Regions from separate parts of the Homo sapiens genome. Here regions 2, 3 and 4 are each linked to region 1. Evidence: promoter capture Hi-C in 16 types of primary human blood cells and fetal thymus (Javierre and others, 2016). All regions are on one chromosome and are shown on one strand. Each heading gives the region's core, a stretch centred on a gene start or on the middle of the fragment in contact. The rest is flanking DNA. Distances are from core to core; before and after follow the strand shown. Region 1 holds the start of COX18 (cytochrome c oxidase assembly factor COX18). Region 2 has its middle 7.9 kb from the start of MTHFD2L. Region 3 overlaps MTHFD2L (methylenetetrahydrofolate dehydrogenase (NADP+ dependent) 2 like). Region 4 holds the start of EPGN (epithelial mitogen).

Region 1 (2,791 bases), core at 60-2,559:
GATCCACTGTGTCTAGCAAAAATAACTTTAAAATTCTGTTCAGATTATGAACAGCTGAACAGTAGTCAGTAGCAACTGATGGCTTTTTTGTTAGCTTAATAAATGGATAAAGAAATAGATTGGTAGGTTTTTCTTTTAGAAAAAGTTTATATATAGTGTGTGTTGTGCTGTGTGTTTAAACACATTTAAAAATTCATGTATAGATTTATCAGTCAGTTTGGAAAGCAGATGAATTCCAGAATCCTGAGAAAGTTATCGTAGGGTACCCTTGGTTAGGTGCACAGTGAAGGGCAAACAATAGCTGGCGTTTGACATTACCCAACATTGTTGGAGGCTTCTTTTCCTAAGTAAGTAAATAAATAAATAAATAAAAATCAAGGTTTACTCCTCACAACATATTTTAGTCTGTAGTCTAGGGGTGACCCTTCGGTGAGGAAACTCCTCCACAACATTCCATTTTGTTGTTTCCAGGAACACAAAAGTTAAAACTATATAGTCCATGTAGATTCAACGTATTCCTTTAAACCAGAAGACAGCCAGTGCTGCTGTTCAGGCTCTTTAAAGCTTATATAGGATACAAGTAAACTCAAGGAATTCACCGTACTGCCAGTGATAGTTTCCCTTAAATAAAGAGATGATACTTTTACTATAAGATTTTTGCTGCTATTTATCATGGAAGACAAAACACCGAAGAAATTCAGTTTGCAGTTGGTGGTCCAAATACTAACTGGAACAGATGGGCCAATTAAATCTACAAGAGACTGAACTATCCCTCGTGCTTAACACTCAGAGTCAGCAAGAAACATGCGTCTCTCTACAAGCAGGTACTTTAGCAACGTGTGACTCTTGAGTATGATAATCTATCGTAATCGCTAACGGAAGCAATCAGGTGCACGTAAAGAGGTTGGGGATCAGCTTCTGGTCACAAAAAACCGAGCAAGGATAATTCCACTACAAATGACTATTAGCTTTAGTGAAAAAGAATGGTAAGTTACACGGTGTAGATGAACTTTACAAGGCGAGAGCTCCCTAAAGAACACCCAGCCTGGCGGAGGGCAGCAGGCTCCACCCATGTCTCTGCAGTTTTGGTCCGGCCTCGGACTAACTACACCCTAGCAGCGGGAAACTTTCGCGTGTGCGCAGTAGGCCTGTCCAGTGCCGCGTGGGAAAGGCGGGACTTTCCTATCTCTTGCGTCACATCCACTGCGACGCAAGACGTCACCGGCTTGACTGGGAAGGTCAATCGCGGCTGCAGGCAGGCGCGCATGCGCTTTATGCCCGCTGTTGCTGGCGCGTGCGCGTATCAGCCTTGGCTGGCCGGTGTATGTCCGCTGGATTGTGAGGCCCGGGATCTGGGCTCCGCCGTGGTGCAGAAATGCTGTGCCGGCTCGGCGGTCGGTGGCTGCGGCCGCTCCCTGCCCTGCAGCTTTGGGCTAGGGACCTGCCGCTTGCGCCGGTTCCTACGAGCGGCGCCAAGCGCCCCACTCTCCCAGTGTGGGCAGTGGCACCAGTCTCTGCAGTACATGCGAACGGCTGGTACGAGGCCCTGGCCGCGTCTTCGCCGGTGCGGGTTGCGGAGGAAGTACTGCTCGGCGTGCACGCCGCCACGGGCCTGCCCTGGTGGGGCAGCATTCTGCTCTCCACCGTGGCCTTACGGGGTGCTGTCACGCTGCCTTTGGCAGCCTACCAGCACTACATCCTGGCCAAGGTGAGGGGCGCCGAGCCGTGCGCGTACCCTGCGCTGCAACCCCTGCGGCGGAGGAAGGCCGACATTCACTCAGGGTTTTCGATCGCACGATGTTGCCTTCTGCAGTGCTTAGTGTTTAATCATCGTGACCATTTCATTGTGACCATTTTAGCGTTAAAAAAAATTGAACTAGCATTAGGTGTGTTAAATAAGATACTTTGTGACACGTGTACCTGTCATTTCTTTTGTCTTACTGGATTTGTGCTCCAAGCACAAGTGGTTACTATACTTGCTCTCGGGGAACGGAGACAAAGAAATCAGTCGCAGAAGAAATTGTGTTGGCGAAACCTACAAAATTTATGTCTTAAAAGTTTTAATAGCCAGTATGTCTGCAGTGTCTTTCGTCCCAAAGTATTCCAGCTGGTCTTTCTTATTAGGAAGAAACTACTAGACTAACAGTTTGCGAACTTGTTTCCTCTCCAGACCCGACTAAGACTGTGTCTGGTTGGTCGCAGTTACTTGACCTTTTAATGCTGAATCCTTTTTTCTGAGGAATCAGGCTAGCAGTACCTTCCTTGCCTACTTCACAGCGTTATCAGAGCAAGTCAGATAATACGGGTTAAAGTGCTTGATTATTCAAATGGGATATTTCAAAAATAGTGGCTTTCTTGTTTTCAGGTTGTGAGCATGGGGAAAAAAAACCGGAAACAAAACAGGAACGGAATCAGCAGCAACATTAAGGCAGTGAGCCATTTTACAGGAAGAATGAGCACAGGGCAGGAATAAATGCTATTTTTACTTTTGATTTGTGGCTATCACAGTGTATTAAAGGTTCTTAACAAACTGCTGTTTTCTCCGCTTACGTTACTAGGAAATGTAGAGATGGAACAGTAAAGCCCAGGGTGCAGTTCTTATCTAATATTTGTAACCCTGTGAAGTAGGTGCTGTTATATATTTTATATGTGAGGGAACATGATTTTAGAGGTTAAGTTACTTGCACAGGATCACATGGATAAGTATGCATTGTGAATTTGGTTGTGACTGAGGACATTTTAAGCAAATTAACATCTTGTGCTTAGAATTAAGATTTCTTGATATGATCAG
Region 2 (2,887 bases), core at 215-2,714, 1.1 Mb before region 1:
TTTTTTAGTCAAATGGGGGAAGATTTAATATAATAATAACAGCATATGTTTCCCTGAATTTGCTATGTGCCAAGGCTGTGCTGAACACTTTTCAGAAGTTATTCTTTTAACCCTTACCACAATGAAGCTATGAGGAAACAGGTAAAATAGGCTAGATAACTTGCCAAGACCTACAGCTATCAAGTGATGAAAGTGGAGTTCAAGTCTCAGGTAGTGTGAAACCAGTGCCCACACTTCTAACTGCAGTGCTTTTCTAAATCTAAGGTTCTCCTGGAAAAGTTTGCATGCTACATCGCTAAGGTACAGAGAACTCATCCCAATGTCTGCATTTTAGTCATTTATACAATCTTCTGTAACTATAAAATTGATTTTTGATTTGAATCTGTGTAATAAGGAGAAAATAATTTTTAATTTTCCAATGAATGGTGGATTCTATTGAAAAATTGATTACCAAGTTTTATTTCATGATAATTAATGTGACTACCAGTTTCATATTTTAATAACTTATTGATAGTTTATTTGTGGTCTTATAATACCATTAACTGTATAAAAAGTGCACCTGGTTTAGAATATAATGTTAACTATATATACTGTATATATCTATATACATGTCAATATATAACCAATGTTACAATGATTGTCTTTTTTCTAATTCCTCTGTTCAACTTTTTAAAGACTAAGAATGATGTAAAGAACCCAATTTTTCTTTATTTTTTACTACATATTATAGCATTATTTCATCAGTGAATATGGGATAATGATTATTACAGATTCCATATAGTTTATCTATTATCATTATATAATGGCCTTCTTTATTTTGTTAAGCCTTCTTGTTTTCCATGGTAATTGTTAGACATTGCTACTCCTATCCTTGTTTAGTTTTAATATGAAAAGTGTCACATGTATATATTTATATATATATACACACACACACGTATACATATACACATGTATACCTGTATCTTTTTACATTTAAATTTTGTTTCACTTTGTTTTGATGTGTGTCATTTAAAACAACATATGTTAATTTTTTTAAGTTATGGGATAATGTTTGGAGCAGAAAATAATATGCAAATAATATATATGCATTGGCTTTTGATTGCTGCTATAATAAATTATCACAAATTTAGTGGTTTAAATAATACAAACTTGGCCAGGCACGGTGGCTTACGCCTGTAATCCCAGGACTTTGGGAAGCCTAGGCGGGCGGATCACCCGAGGTCGGCAGTTTGAGACCAGCCTGACCAACATAGAGAAACACCGTCTCTACTAAAAAATACAAAATTAGCTGGGCATGGTGGCGCATGCCTGTAATCCCAGCTACTCAGGAGGCTAAGGCAGGAGAATCGCTTGAACCTGGGAAGTGGAAGTTGCAGTGAGCTGAGATCGCACCATTGCACTCCAGCCTGGGCAAAAAGAGCAAAACTCTGTCTCAAAAACAAACAACAACAACAAAAACTTATGGTGTTACATTTCTTTAAGATAGAAGTCTGGTGTGAGTCTCACAGGGCTATAGTCAATTAGGGTTGTATTCCTTCTGGAGGCTCTAAGGAGAATCCATCTCCTTCCTTTTTGCGTGTTCTGTAGACAACCTACCCACTTTCTTTGGCTTGTTGGCACCCTTCCCCCATCTTCAAAGCCAAGAATGTCGAAATCCCTCTCTTACTCTTCTTCCATTATTTCTCTCTCTTTCTCTGTCTCTCTCTTTTACTTACTACAGCCAGGGGAGGGTCTCTATTCTAAAGGCCTCATGATTTGATTGAGCCCACTAGGTTAATTCAAGATAATATCCATATCTCAAAGTTACAAACCATAATCACATCTGTAATAGTACCATTTGCCATGTAAGGTGATATATTCACAAGTTTTGAAACCTAGGATATAAACATTTTTTGGGGGGAGCACTCTTCTACCTACCACAACACATAACACCCTTGCAAATTATGAAGCATAACAACAAGAAGAATATTCCTGAACCTACCACACAACGTGGGAATTAGAACCTTTCTGATATCAATGAATAAATCTAGGTGCTTCTTTCATATCCCAAATTTTTTATCAGAGGTAATCATTGTCTTGAATTTTGTAGTTTAATCGTTTTGATTTAAAAATAATTTAATCACAAATACATCTTTTAACAACATAATGCTCAGTCTTCCTTGGTTTTTGTTTTGTTATTTGAGTTTAACATATGATATTGAGCTGGATGCAGTCTTCAAGCACTTGCTTTTTCCCTTTTACTCCGTGTTTCCAAAACATATTTATTTTGTTGCATGTAGCTATAATTCATTCATTTTTTTCTGCTAAATATTATTAAATAGGGGCATTTAGTTTTTCAGCAGCCTATTAACAGATGTCTGAGTTTGTATTAGGCAGAATCTAGGAGGAAACAGAAAACACTGTAGGTATTTCAAATAAAGGAAATTTAATATAGGGATTTAATTAAGTAGATAATGGAAGAACTTAGAAGCCAAAAAGGATACAAAATAACCCAACAGCAGGAAACCACTGAAACTGCTAAATCTGGAGAGACAACTGGATGGAGCAAGTGGCACTATCAGAATTGAGAAGATAAAACTATCTAATGAGAGCTGGAATCATGGCAAAGTCTTCCTTGCAGGACCTGGAACTATCTAAGCAATGATTGATCAGAGGAAGCTATGTCCACAAGGGAGACAGCAGAAAGATAAGAAGAAAAATACACTGGGTTTCCCCTTCTCTCACACTCCAAAATTTGGCTATTGTTTCCCATTGGTCAAACCTACCTGGAAACCAAAAAGCAAAGGGGCCTAAGAAATATAGCCTTTTGGGATACAGAAAAGACTAAGTAAGGGAAAGGCAATGGGATAAATCTAAATGTAAACAAGCCAGACCCAGTGATTTCTCC
Region 3 (2,700 bases), core at 192-2,691, 1.1 Mb before region 1:
ATGAATAATTTTATAAAAATTGAATCAAATACTACATACTCTTTTTTGGCCAGCTATTTCCACTCAGCATAATTATTTTTTAATTGATTCACATAGTTGCATGTTTGAATGGTTCATTTCTTTTTTATTGCTGAGTAGTATTACATTGTATGGATATACCAATATTTGTTTATCCATTCGATTGTAATTAATGGATATTCGGGTTCTTTCCAGTTTTTGATCATGACAAATACAGCTGTTACAAACATTTTATAACACATATGCTTTAATATATTTTGTACACATATGCTTTAAAATATTTTTTTTGTGGGGGACAGGGTCTCCATCACCCAGGCTGCAGTTCAGTGGCAAGATCTCGGCTCACTACAACCTCCGCCTCCTGGGTTCAAATGATTCTGATGCCTCAGCCTCCAGAGTAGCTGGAATTACAGACATATGCCACCATGCCTGACTAATTTTTGTATATTTAGTAGAGACGGGGTTTCGCTATGTTGGCCAGGCTGGTCTCGAACTCCTGGCTGCAAGTGATCTGCCCCTCTTGGCCTCCCAAAATGCTGGGACTACAGGTGTGAGCCACCACTCCTGGCCGCTTTAATTTCTTTTGAGCAAATATCTCAAAGGGGAATGGCTAGGTCACATCGTAAGTGTATGTTTAAATACGTTAAAAACTGTTACGTTACAAAAACACTGTACCACTTTGCAACTTTGCATTCCTTCAAACACTATATGAGTTCTGGTTGCTCCATATACTTGTCATCACTTCAGATGGTCAGGTTTTAAAACTGTTGACATTTTAGTGGACATATGGTGGTATGTCACTGTGCTTTAAATTTGCATTCCCTTAACGAATACTGATGTTGAACATCTTTTCATATGCTTATTTGCCATCTGTGATCTTCTTTAGTGAATTAAATAATTAAGTCTTTTGCCCATTGTTTAGTAGGTTGTTTCCTATTTTGAATTTTTTTAATTTTATTATTATTATACTTTAAGTTTTAGGGTACATGTGCACAATGTGCAGGTTTATTACATATGTATACATGTGCCATGTTGGTGTGCTCCACCCATTAACTTGTCATTTAGCATTAGGTATATCTCCTAATGCTATCCCTCCCCCCTCCCCCCACCCCACAACAGTCCCCGAAGTGTGATGTTCCCCTTCCTGTGTGCATGTGTTCTTATTGTTCAATTCCCACCTATGAGTGAGAACATGCAGTGTTTGGTTTTTTGTCCTTGCGATAGTTTGCTGAGAATGATGGTTTCCAGTTTCATCCATGTCCCTACAAAGGACATGAACTCATCATTTTTTATGGCTGCATAGTAGCCCATGGTGTATATGTGCTACATTTTCTTAATCCAGTCTTTCGTTGTTGGACATTTGGGTTTTTTTAAAGTTCTTTGTGTATCCTAGATTCATGTCCTTTATCAGATATGGGGTTTGAAATATTGTCTCCCAGTCTGTGCTTTGCCTTTTTATTCTCATGTTTTTAGAACAGTTCTTAATTTTAATGTACTCCAATTTATTATTTTTTCCTTTTATGGACCATGCTTTTAGTGTTGTATAAAAGAAATCTTTGCCTAATTCAAGGTCACAAAGGTTTTCTCCAGCGTTTTCTTCTAGATGTTTTATGGGCCTAAGTTATACATTCAGTTTATGATTTATGTCTATTTTTAGTTTGGTGAGAATTTGTATGAGGCTACTGCCAAGTGTTTTTTATGTCTATTGAGATGATCATATGTTTTTCTCGAGTGTTAGTCTGTTAATATGGTAACTGATCAATTTTCAAATGTTAAATCAAACTTGCATTCCTGGGATACATCCCAGTTGGTTATTATGTATCTATCCTTTCCAGACTATCATGGATTTCATCTGAAATTTTGTTAAAATTGTTGCATCTACATGCATAAGAGGTGTTTGTAGTTTTCTTTTCTTATAATGTTATCATGTAGCTTTGATACCAGGATGATGCTAGCTTCATAGAATGAGTTAGGAAGAATTCTATCCTCTTCAAATTTCCGGAAGAGTGTGTAAAGAATTGGCATTTTTTTCTCGCTTAAATGTTTGGTAGGATTCACCCATGAAGCTATCTGATTCTGGGGTTTTCTTTCTGGGAAGGTTTAAACCTACAAACTTAAATTCCTTAATATAGAGGGCAATTCAGGTTATCTAATATTTCTTGAGTGATTTTTGTAGCTTGTGCTTTGTACCTTCCAATACTTTGTATGTAATTATAAGCAAATCAAGTTAAAATAAAATAAAACTTTTGAGGTTTTTATTTTTCAAAGTAAAGTAACAAACTTTTTTCACTGTTTCCTATGAATTTCTGGTAAGGATATTTTATGAATTCATTTAAGTAGCCTTTTGGCACTAAGATAACAAGGATCTTTTATATTAGCAAATACTAAGAACTGCAGATACAGCAACAAATTCCAGCACAACTCATTTATAGGTAGTAGCAAATAAAACTTTCCATAAATCAATTTGTGTCAGCAATATTTTCTTGGGGTAGAACACTATTATAGAAGCAGATTCATCTGTTAAAAAAACTAGTAATCACCTAACACAGTAAGGAATATACATTCTATTTTAAAATATAAAAACATCTGAACTCTGTCTTGCATTTTATAGCATGTGAGTAGTGATGCTACTGCTGACACATTATTGATTCACTCACATTAAACAAAATAATTTGTTCACAG
Region 4 (2,700 bases), core at 25-2,524, 1.2 Mb before region 1:
TGTGATAATAATTAAGTGCAAAAGAAAATATATCATTACCATCAACAACAAAAATTGGGTACAAGTGGTTAGGAAATACAGCATATGCTAAAATAACAACAAAAACTCCAAAGCAAACAAGAAAAAAAGGTCATTCCAAAGATGAGGGAAAGTGCTGTTCATCTTGTAGCCATAATGTCTTTGGCATCAAAGCTTATAATCACAGATCAAAATATAATGCTGCTCATCAAGAATGCCAAAATGGGGACAAACTGTCTCTGTACACACAGGGGTTATTGGGAACCAAGCAGAAATGAAGCAGAAAATGTGGCCTGTTTCACATTCAAGACAGTAACTGAAGACAGCTTTTGTCTCATTTGCTTAACTTCCTCCTTTTAAAAAGGCAATTATTTCCTGGCACATTTATCTGTCACTTCAATTTAACAGCATCCTGCTAAAAGAGCTGATTATCTAATAATAAAATATATATTAAAAATGGCCAATATTGCTTTTATCACAATCCAAATTTCTCTCCCAAGTTTTAGAAAAGTCTTGTGAAATATGAAAATGGGAAGAAAATACCTTCTGTTTTGTTAACTGTCCAGTTACCTTGCTGGGCTGTGATTGGAGGTGTTACAGTCACGGCTGCCTCTTCGGTCAGTGCTGTCATTGCTGTATTAAGGGGGCAAAAGCATCTTTAACAGAGAGCCTCCTTCTATGTACAAGCAACAGATGGAAAGTATTCTTATTCTGTTTATTCCAATTTCTATTTTTTTAATTTATTACAGTTGAAATCCATAACGTGACTAGGGCAACATACTTACAGTTTCTCATCCATTCCATTGACTATATTAGGATTAAAGCAAATAAAAACCCAATATTTAAGACCATTGATACATTTACATATTAATTAAAAAATAAGAACCCTATAGTATAGTAGCTAAATGTATCAATTACTCTTCAATTGTATAAAGCAAACATTCTGGAGGTCTCAAAAAAGGTGTCAAAATATATTAGGAAAGGAACATACAGGACATAAGAAACTAAATTAATCCACAGATTCATTACTCTGATCTTTGTCATAAAGAACAACTGTTAGAAGCCAACTTCTCTCTAATGCAGAGAAAATAAATTCTATTCACATTTTACACTGATATAAAGTTAACAAAACAAAAGGAAATTACCTACCGTTGAATAAAAGATAGACTGATATTGGAACTCCCAAAGCCATTTCCTGTAGTTGCTTAACTTTCTTTCTCTTATCCTTCTAGACTGACGGGTGGAAGGTTTTTATTGAGCTCTCTGAGTCTTTGTTGCATTTATATTTCATGAAGCGTCATCTGGCAGTTCTTACCAATCAAAAAAATATGTACTTCTGGCAGCAGCAGAAAGCCTCTGGGCGCTCACGCACTTGGTTAGGATACCTGTATTATCTAGCAATGTGATCAAGTTTTCTTTTGAAACACTGGTTTCCTGTTACCTGTGGGCATAATCATGTATGTAAAAGTACTTAAAACAACAAGAACAAAATGTAATTTCAGGAAAGGCTCCCATTGGTGTGAAGAGAACTATACCAGCTCAAACTATGCTAGAAACCTATACGGGAGTTCAACAAACATAACTGCAAATTAGGAAGCAGCATAACCTGTTTCTAAAAGAAATATACCTGAAACTATAGTTGGTTATACCACCTTTTATTACAGACTATAAGTTCCATTTCAAATCAAGATAATTTGTTAATTTAGTTGCAGAGAACAGTTAAATTTGTGAAAACACAGAGGTTTCATATTCCATTTTAGTGTTTGTTTCTTAGTGTTACTATGACAAGTGCTGTAAATAAAATTATTTTTAATAGTATAATATTCACCTTTCTGTCATCCTGCTATTTAACATTTTTCTGAGTAAATGAAATGGGCTGCCATATTCCAGGAACAACAATGCTTAAATCTGCATCCCAATGATTAAGCTACAGAGAACCAGTAAAGTACCAACATAATGATAATAGCAATAATAATAATATTAAAATTCTCCATTAAGAGAAAATTAAGATGACATTTAGTTTGGATACATCCAATGAATAGAAAGTTTCTAAGTTAATACAACATTCAAATTATTTCTCAAGTTCATCTAGTTGTAATTATTAAAGTGGCACTTTAAAGGCCAAAATATGTCATTACAGCTACTATATTTTACAACTACAGAAATTTTCACTTGCCCCAAATTAATATAAATGATTTATAAATATATCTTCCTGAGGCATTGAGTCTTTCTGTCTGGAATTTCAATTCCTTGTATTTTCTTGAAACTTGAAACCTCAAAACCCTAAAAACATATTCAAGTCAAGATAGGTTATCTTTTGCATCATGTCCACTCAGCAAATTAGATTTACCAGAAAGGAGCCCTTTCACTATTCAAATATAAATGTGGTGTTAGAAATCACACAAGAACAAGCTTGTTGAACTCATTATAACTTGGGCAATCACTTGCCACAGGAGTCATCATTTTAAAGTTAAAATAATATAATAGTACTTGGCTCGCTTTAAATGTGTCTACATTTTGCATTTCTACTTTTGTAGGTTTTTAAAAAACTGTTGATTACTAAGTCGATTTCTAGATAATATATTTCCCAGGCAAATAACATTTGAATTATAAATTGAACAATCGTCTTTGCACCATTGCTGAGAATTTAAAAAGAAATCATTTACAAAAGATTAAATAAAC

Evidence for each region. The method cuts DNA at HindIII sites, captures the fragments that hold promoters and counts their contacts. A CHiCAGO score of 5 or more calls a contact.
Region 2: a fragment that was not itself captured here is called in contact with the fragment with the promoter of COX18 in region 1 in 1 of 17 cell types (fetal thymus); the score reaches 6.2 in fetal thymus.
Region 3: a fragment that was not itself captured here is called in contact with the fragment with the promoter of COX18 in region 1 in 3 of 17 cell types (total B cells, monocytes and fetal thymus); the score reaches 7.5 in total B cells.
Region 4: the fragment with the promoter of EPGN here is called in contact with the fragment with the promoter of COX18 in region 1 in 1 of 17 cell types (total CD4 T cells); the score reaches 6.2 in total CD4 T cells.

Annotation. Positions count from the first base shown.
Region 1 is chr4:73,068,234-73,071,024 of GRCh38, reverse strand. It overlaps COX18 (cytochrome c oxidase assembly factor COX18), which reads left to right and starts at 1,309. Exons shown (of 6, transcript NM_001297732.2): 1 at 1,309-1,708. The coding sequence starts at 1,376. LOC112268467 (a long non-coding RNA gene) reads right to left here and starts at 1,079. Exons shown (of 2, transcript XR_002959797.2): 1 at 996-1,079. RefSeq lists enhancers at 958-1,474, 1,021-1,540, 1,475-1,990. The HindIII fragment of the contact is 3,732 bases long and covers 567-2,791 here.
Region 2 is chr4:74,148,818-74,151,704 of GRCh38, reverse strand. It overlaps a transcript of MTHFD2L not described here. Among named protein-coding and RNA genes, the nearest start is that of MTHFD2L, 7.9 kb to the left of the region's middle. The HindIII fragment of the contact is 4,121 bases long and covers 1-2,887 here.
Region 3 is chr4:74,169,409-74,172,108 of GRCh38, reverse strand. The region is part of intron 1 of MTHFD2L (methylenetetrahydrofolate dehydrogenase (NADP+ dependent) 2 like); the gene reads right to left. Among named protein-coding and RNA genes, the nearest start is that of MTHFD2L, 13 kb to the right of the region's middle. The HindIII fragment of the contact is 8,326 bases long and covers 1-2,700 here.
Region 4 is chr4:74,307,044-74,309,743 of GRCh38, reverse strand. It overlaps EPGN (epithelial mitogen), which reads right to left and starts at 1,274. Exons shown (of 5, transcript NM_001270989.2): 1 at 1,168-1,274; 2 at 562-651. The coding sequence starts at 1,210. The region is part of intron 2 of LOC105377276 (a long non-coding RNA gene); the gene reads left to right. The HindIII fragment of the contact is 2,238 bases long and covers 195-2,432 here.